Regions from separate parts of the Homo sapiens genome. Here region 1 is linked to region 2. The links are contacts of gene promoters, found by promoter capture Hi-C in human tissues and cell types (Jung and others, 2019). All regions are on one chromosome and are shown on one strand. Each heading gives the region's core, a stretch centred on a gene start or on the middle of the fragment in contact. The rest is flanking DNA. Distances are from core to core; before and after follow the strand shown.

Region 1 (3,948 bases), core at 2-2,501, 160 kb after region 2:
TGAATCCACCCGAAGCTAGAGGGCCCGAGCCCGGGGGGCGGTCGGGTGCTCACCTCCAGAGCTTGCCCAGCGTCTTGCTGAGCTCAGCGTTGTGCAGGTGCGGGTACTGGTCCGCGAGCTTCCTGCGCGCTGCCTGAGCCCACACCATGAAGGCGTTCATGGGCCGCTTGACGTGCGGCTTGCTTTTGCTGGCGCCGTTGACGCGCACGGGCATGGGCACCAGCGTCCAGTCGTAGCCGCTGAGCACCTGGCTGACGGCCTCGCGGATGCACACGGGGAACTTGTCATCGTCCGCCTCGCCGTCCTGCTGCTCCTTCTTGACCTTGCCCAGCTCGCCTGGCCCCGGGCTGGCTCGCAGGCCCGATCCGCCGCCGCCGCCGTCGGGCCCTAGCGAGGGCGCGCTCCCCGGGGACAGGCAGCGGGGCTCCTCCGAGCCCACGGGGCTCAGCTCCACCTCCGATAGGTCCTGCTCCTCCGCCATGTCGCCCCCGGCCGCCGCCGCCGCCGCCTCGGCCGCCTCCCCCGGGCCAGCCGCCGGGGTCCTCGCAAAGAGTCCAACGCCCACCTGGATGGAAGGAGGGCGCGATGGAGCGGCCGCGCGCGCAGCCCCGAGGGCGGCCCGAGACAGGACGTGGGCACAGCCCCGAGGTGGCGGCCCTTCCTGCTCCAGCTAAACCCATCTGGCCCCTGGGGCCCACGCACATGCCAGACTCTAGGTGGGTGCGTCCCGCCTCTGTGTCTTCCCACCACCTGGTCCCAACCGTCTCTTGGTGTGGGTGGCTTTTTTTTTAGCCTCCTTTTTTGGGTGGAGGTTTGTTGATGATAAGGAAGAAAAAAACGGAGCCTTTATTTTGCTCTAATCCCGGCCCCTGGAATTTCCCACCTTTTCTCTCACCTTTCCTTCTTCCCTCAGCCTGCCCCAACGGGGTTTAGAGGAGAGCCAGGTGGGGGGCAAGGGCGGGGTGTCGCCTCTCTCCACCTCACAGCAGGGTCCCAGGCCTGGGCGGGCCAGGGAGGAGCAGGCTGCGCACTCACCTCCTCGGACCTCTCCTCCAGTCTGGGGCTCGTCCTTAGGAAGTGGAAAACCGTGTCCCAAGGTGTGCGGTCCAGCTCGGGGCTGGGAGGTGACGCTGGTGGGCTGGGAGGGAGGGGCGGGGGGCCCTGAGCCTCAGGCCACGGCCTCGTTAGGACGGAGCCTGAATCCTTACCACCAACCACCCTGGCCGGACAGCCCGAGACTGACTGAGCGACTGAGCCTGAGCCGCTGCGGAGGGCTGGGGAAGGAAGGAGGGGGAGAGGGGGGAGGGGAGAGGAGGGAGGGAAGGGCAGAAGGTGGAGCCTCCAGGCTTTCCTTCATCCCCAACACTCAGGGCTCCTCCACCCGGAGCCCAGGCCCCCCCACCCAGCTCCCTGCCCTACTGCCCAGGCCCATCTTGCTGAGGCTTATCTTGGGCTTAGTCTGGGAGGTGGAGGGGAGGTTAGGCCGAGGAAGGAAGAGATGTAGGCTGGAGGGTCAGAACCTGTTGGATGGAAGAAAATTGGGCCCAACCAGGACTCCTAACGTCTGCCTCAGGTGGCAGGATGGGCACTTGGCAGGGGACTAGGGAGAGACGTGAAGGCGGTGAGGGTCCTGGGGGCCCGTGAGGGTGGCTGGCCCTAGCTGCTTCGTCTGCGAAATCCTGTTGAGTGCCTAGTGTGTGCCAGGCACTGATGCCCAGCTCCTCACCCTGCCTCCTACCTTTTCCCAGGCAGCCCTTTCTGCCCCATCCTGCACAGTAAGAGAGACTTCTCAGGGATCCCTCTGAGAAGTGCAGAGCCCCAGCTTGACCCCTGGTCCCTTCTCTGCAGACACCCAGCACACGCGCGTTCTGGTCTGGTTCAAGGTGGAAACACAAGACTAAAGCTGCCAGGAGGCCAAGGTGGGACAGGTTGGGGGCCCTCTCTCAGTAGGTCTTAGAGGCATTTTGGGTTGCTACCTACTGGGACCCAGCTCCTTCCACACTGGGCTCACCCTGTCTTGGGAGAGGGTAGGGGAGTCCTAGTCCTGATTGTCACGAAGTCCTCTACTCCCCCACCCCAACAAGGGGTGGGGACTTGCCCTGCCTCTTCCCTCCTCTGCCCACCTCTCCCTCCCTCCCCTTTTCTTTCCTGCCCATCCTCCGTTGACACCTTTTTCTCTCTCTTTCCTTGGCCTCTCCTCCAAAGGTCGCAGTGCTGTTCTCTTAACTGAGGGCAGCCCCGCCGGGGTGTTGAGGCCGAGGTGGGGTGTATGTGGGTTATGTAATGGAGCTGGGGTCGCATTGGCAACCATGTGACGTTCTGAGCTCCTCAACAGCAGGGCAAAGCCCCAAGACCACCCCAAGGGGTCCTGTCTGGAGTGGGCTGCAAAGGGTCTGGGGAGGCAAGGCCTCATGCTTGGGAAAGTCCAAAGGGGTGTAGGGGGTGGGAAATGGGACACAATGAGGTAGTCACACGAGGCAGAGGCATGTTGGGGGTGGGGGGAGCAGACACTGGAACACACACACACACACACACACACACACACACACATGCTCACACACACAACCAGCCAGACAATCGGGCCAGTGTGTCTGGGGCCTCGGAGCCCAGTGAATTAGGAGTTTGATAAGGGTTTTCTCTTTCTCTCGCTTGCTGGCCTTGGACAATCTCCCCCCAGTTTTCCTCGACGCCACCCCCGGCGCTGCCAACCCTCCTCCCCCCGCCTCCCTTCTCTTCCCTGTGCCCAGACTCTTGTTCGGGGCCTTGAAACAGTGAGCTGTCTTTGTTCGAAATACAGGTGAACGGCAATCATGTGATTAACACACACACACATAAAAAGCTTTTTAACAGCGCCCGCTCGGCCTCAGAACCGCCCGGAGAGGAGCCGCCCTGGATGGACAGAGGGACGAGGGACGAGCATCTGCCGTCGTGTCCCGGCTGCCCTGCAGTCGCCTCCAACACCCGCTGCTGCCCGCCCGCTGCCTGCCTGCCTGGCATCTCTCTCTCCCGGTGGGTCCCCACTCATCCTTCCACCCCTCAGTTCCTCCTCTTTGAGGAAAGGACCTCCCCGCTCTCTGCTGTGTCTGTGACTGGCCTGAGACCCGCCTGGGGCAGGAGGGGTGGTTGTGGAAGGAAAGAGCCCAGAGTTAGGAGGTGGAATGTGGGGTCCCACAGCTGCCCCCTCTCTAACTCCCTGCTTCCTCCTTTGCCCTCCTTGGTCCAGCTGTGCCAGGATGGGGGTGGGGGTAGCAGTGGGCACGCTCTGTCTGCAGGAAGCCACGCTAGACAGAAGGGGCCACTCCCTCTCTCTCTCCCTTGTCCCCGCACAGACACTGCCTTCCTCTCAGGGCTGTGCTGGGCTTTTTGCTGAGCAGTGTTGGGTGAGGCAGGTGGGCCTGCAGGGCGGGTGGGAAGGGCTGTCAGATGACCAGTGCTGTGTGTGTGTGGTTGGGGCCCCTGCTGCGAACACATCCCTGCCCACCATGCTGGCAACTGGGATCCCCTCCATCCCATCCCAGGCCCTGGGAACCCAGTGCTCTCCAGCAGGCAAGGGTGAAGGACCCATAGTCATTCCTGAAGAGCAGGGAGCTTGGAGAGGGGAGGGATCCTGGCTGAAGACACCTGGGCCTCTGCCCCAGCAGGACAACAGGAGGGCCAGTGTCACCTTCTCCTCCTTTCCCTGCTGGGGGTGGCAGGGGTCCCTTTACCCCCTCATTCTTGACCCTTCTCCAGGGATGCTTGTGACCTCCTTACCCCACCCCCCATCACCTCTCTGTCCTGAAGTGAGGGTTTGTCACCGTCCATGGCAAGGTGTGGTGTCTGGTAGGCTCTATGACCTGCCTTCTCTCAGGGTGTTTATTCTGCAGCAGAGAGGGGTCTGCGGTCTGAGTGTAATGGTGGAAATCCAGGCTTCCTTCCATGGCCCAAGGAGGCCTTTCCGGAGCAACA
Region 2 (3,588 bases), core at 878-3,377:
TCTGGAAAGAGCTTCCGGAGAAGGATCTCAGGATTTGCAGAGCCTGAGGGAGGAGTCTCTGGAGTCTGCCGAAAGGAGACTCAAGTCCTGGTTTCCCACTCCAGGAAACCCCAGTCAAGACTAGGAATCCTTTTTTTTTTTTTTTTTTTTTTTTTTTTTGAGACGGAATCTCGCTCTGTCGCCCAGGCTGGAGTGCAGTGGCACGATCTTGGCTCACTGCAACCTCCAACCCCTGGCTTCAAGCAATTCTCTGCCTCAGCCTCCCGAGCAGCTGGGATTACAGGTGCCCGCCACCACACCCAGCTAATTTTTGTATTTTTAGTAGACATGGGGTTTCATCATCTTGGCCAGGCTGGTCTTGAACTCCTGACCTCATGATCCACCTGTCTTGGCCTCCCAAAGTGCTGGGATTACAGGCATGAGCCACCGCGCCCAGCCTCTTCTTTTTTTTTTTTTTTTTTTTTTTGAGACAATGTCTCACTCCATCACCTGGGCTGGAGTGCAGTGGCGTCATCTCGGCTCATTGCAACCTCCACCTCCCAGGTTCAAGCGATTCTCCTGCCTCAGCCTCCAGAGTAGCTGGGATTACAGGCGCCCGCCACGACGCTCAGTTAATTTTTGTATTTTTAGTAGAGACAAGGTTTCGCCACATTGGCCAGGCTGGTCTCGAATTCCTGGCCTCAAGTGATCTGCCTGCCTCAGCCTCCCAAAGTGCTGGGATTACAGACGTGAGCCACCATGCCCGGCCTAGGAACCTTTTCTAAACATGGATTGGAGCAAGAAGGTGCAGGGATAGGGGATGGAGTCACATCAGGCTGGGCCACAGGAGGTGGGAGTGCCAGAGACTGGCTGGGCCCTGGGCACAGAGGGGTTAACTACAAAGCAAATCACAGAGAGCGAGATCAATGGGTTACTGGCTGCAGAGAGAGGAAAAGGCAGCAGCAACGCAGAGAGGCAGAGAAGAGCCAGGCAGAAGAGCCTGCCACCTGGGGGAAATCAGGGACTGAGGAGGAAGTGGCCAGTGGCTACTCCAGAGGGAGTGCCCAACTCCGGCTCAGCAGAGGGGGCAGAGGAGAGGAGGGGCCTTAAAGGCAAAGGGGGAGAAGTAGAAGGCAGACCAGTACCTGCAGGGAGGCACCAAGGGGCAGCCGCTGAATCAGGAGGCCCACCCAGCCCGGCCATTCCACCCAGGATCAAGCCCACTGCCCAAGGCGGAGGTGGGTGTTGCCCATCCTGGGCTTTGGGGACCTACTGCATGCTGGGTGCTGGGATGGGGGCAGACATTGCCTTTCTTCCCTACTCCCTGCCTGACCCCCCTTTCCCCTACTTTGTCCCACCACCCCAGTGGTCTCAAGCCTGCAAGGAGATCCACAGGCAGTAGGAGACATGGGCTGTAGAGTGGGATGGGGGTGAGCATGGGTGCGGTGTGCACACACACAAGTTGTCAGAGGCACCACCTGTTACAAGCTCTCAGATGAGCACTCTAGCTTAAGAGGCAGGATACCAGGGTGGCAACAGCCCCAGAGCTGCCATTTCGAGTGTGATATTATCCTCCCATGTCCCCTCTCTGGGCCTCAATTTCCCTATGTGCAGAGAGGAAGCAGTGACCTACACGGTCTTCCCAGTTTTGCCATTGTGATGATCTCACTATACTGGACCCTCCAATGACTCAGGGATGTTACCCGTGTTTTGCTAAGGCTACAGCTTGTAGCCAGAGAAAGCCCTAAACCCATGTCCCAGGGTCTCCCCTGAGCTTCAGATCCCCATTGAGAAGGAAAACATACCAGTTTCTGGGTTTGGCCCCTCCCCCCATCGCCATATCTTCATCCTACTTCGCTTGTGCCTTCCCCAGCCTCGTGGGTTGAAAGTGTCCCTCAAATACCTAGGTAGTCCTCCAGGCAGGACTCCAGGGGTGTTCCTTAGGAAACTGAGGAACTCTCACCCCTTGAACACCACGAGCTTGCTCACACAGTGACACTCAGCGATGACTTTGGCTCTGCTCTCCCCTCCTCCATCTCCCACGAGCTTCCAGCCCAGAACACCTGGCCAGACCCAGGTCGGGGGAGTTAGATCCCGGGGTCAAGCAACCAGAACTGGGGGCTCTTGCCTGAGGATTCCAGCTTCTCTTCCCAGGTGCCCGTCTGATGGGGAGATGGCTGATGCCCAGAACATTTCACTGGACAGCCCAGGGAGTGTGGGGGCCGTGGCAGTGCCTGTGGTCTTTGCCCTAATCTTCCTGCTGGGCACAGTGGGCAATGGGCTGGTGCTGGCAGTGCTCCTGCAGCCTGGCCCGAGTGCCTGGCAGGAGCCTGGCAGCACCACGGACCTGTTCATCCTCAACCTGGCGGTGGCTGACCTCTGCTTCATCCTGTGCTGCGTGCCCTTCCAGGCCACCATCTACACGCTGGATGCCTGGCTCTTTGGGGCCCTCGTCTGCAAGGCCGTGCACCTGCTCATCTACCTCACCATGTACGCCAGCAGCTTTACGCTGGCTGCTGTCTCCGTGGACAGGTGCGCTGTGCCTGGGGCCTGGCTGGGCAGGGCTGTGGGGGCGGGGGTTGGGGGAGGAGTCCTGAACAGATCCTCACTGGCCTTAGGAAGGAGAGAGTGGGGGACCAGAAAGGGAGGTGGGTGGGAGGAAACAAAAGCTCCCTGACCCCTCGCAAGCAGCCTCTGGGCACCTGCAGGGCGTGCTTGAGGGGACTGTCCTGCCCTTCCCCTCCTCCACTGTGAACTTCCAGAGGACGCCTCTGAGTCTCAAGTGGCAGCACAGGGTCTGGCACATAGTAAGTGCTCTGTAAGCGCGAAATGAATCGCAAAAGAAGCTCACGAATGCGTTCATCAGTTTTTTTGTTTTGTTTTGTTTTGTTGTTTTTTTTTTTTGGATCTTGGCTCACTGCAACCTCTGCCTCCTGGGTTCCAGCGATTCTCCTGCCACAGCCTCCTGAGTAGCTGGGATTACAGGCCACCACACCTGGCTAATTTTTTGTATTTTTAGTAGAAACGGGGTTTTGCCATGTTGGACAGGCTGGTCTCGAACCCCTGACCTCAAGTGATCCGCCCGCCTCGGCCTCCCAAGTGCTGGGATTACAGGCGTGAGCCACCGCGCCCAGCCCAGCTATTTTCTAACTGCCCACACCTGGCCAAGCTGTGCACACATCTGCTTCCACAGCTTGAAACTTGGGGTCAAATCCAGGCTCACTCCAGCTGATGACCCTGGGCAAGTCACTTCTCTCTGGACCTCATCTGACGCATCCATAAAATAATCCTAGAAATAACAAGTCACCGGGATCGGGCCCTTGCTAGGTGCAAGGGCCTAAGCACCTTGCGCGTTCACACCCTTAATCCCCGCCACGTCCCCCACGGTTCACAGGAGGCGCACTGGGCCGCAGGGCCCGGGCGCGGGACGTGGCGCGGGCCCCTGCGGGAGGGCACCTGCCCGCCCCGCTGACCAGGCGCCCTCCGCAGGTACCTGGCCGTGCGGCACCCGCTGCGCTCGCGCGCCCTGCGCACGCCGCGTAACGCCCGCGCCGCAGTGGGGCTGGTGTGGCTGCTGGCGGCGCTCTTCTCGGCGCCCTACCTCAGCTA

Evidence for each region. The method cuts DNA at HindIII sites, captures the fragments that hold promoters and counts their contacts. A contact is called where the count stands out against the background at its distance.
Region 1: the fragment with the promoter of SOX10 here is called in contact with the fragment with the promoter of GALR3 in region 2 in 2 of the 25 tissues and cell types used here (adrenal gland and dorsolateral prefrontal cortex).

Annotation. Positions count from the first base shown.
Region 1 is chr22:37,983,304-37,987,251 of GRCh38, forward strand. It overlaps SOX10 (SRY-box transcription factor 10), which reads right to left and starts at 1,252. Exons shown (of 4, transcript NM_006941.4): 1 at 1,036-1,252; 2 at 54-565. The coding sequence starts at 481. It also overlaps a transcript of POLR2F not described here. RefSeq lists enhancers at 1-358, 2,313-3,147. The HindIII fragment of the contact is 28,697 bases long and covers 1-3,948 here.
Region 2 is chr22:37,821,255-37,824,842 of GRCh38, forward strand. GALR3 (galanin receptor 3) reads left to right here and starts at 2,128. Exons shown (of 2, transcript NM_003614.2): 1 at 2,128-2,511; 2 at 3,469-3,588. The coding sequence starts at 2,153. The HindIII fragment of the contact is 28,947 bases long and covers 1-3,588 here.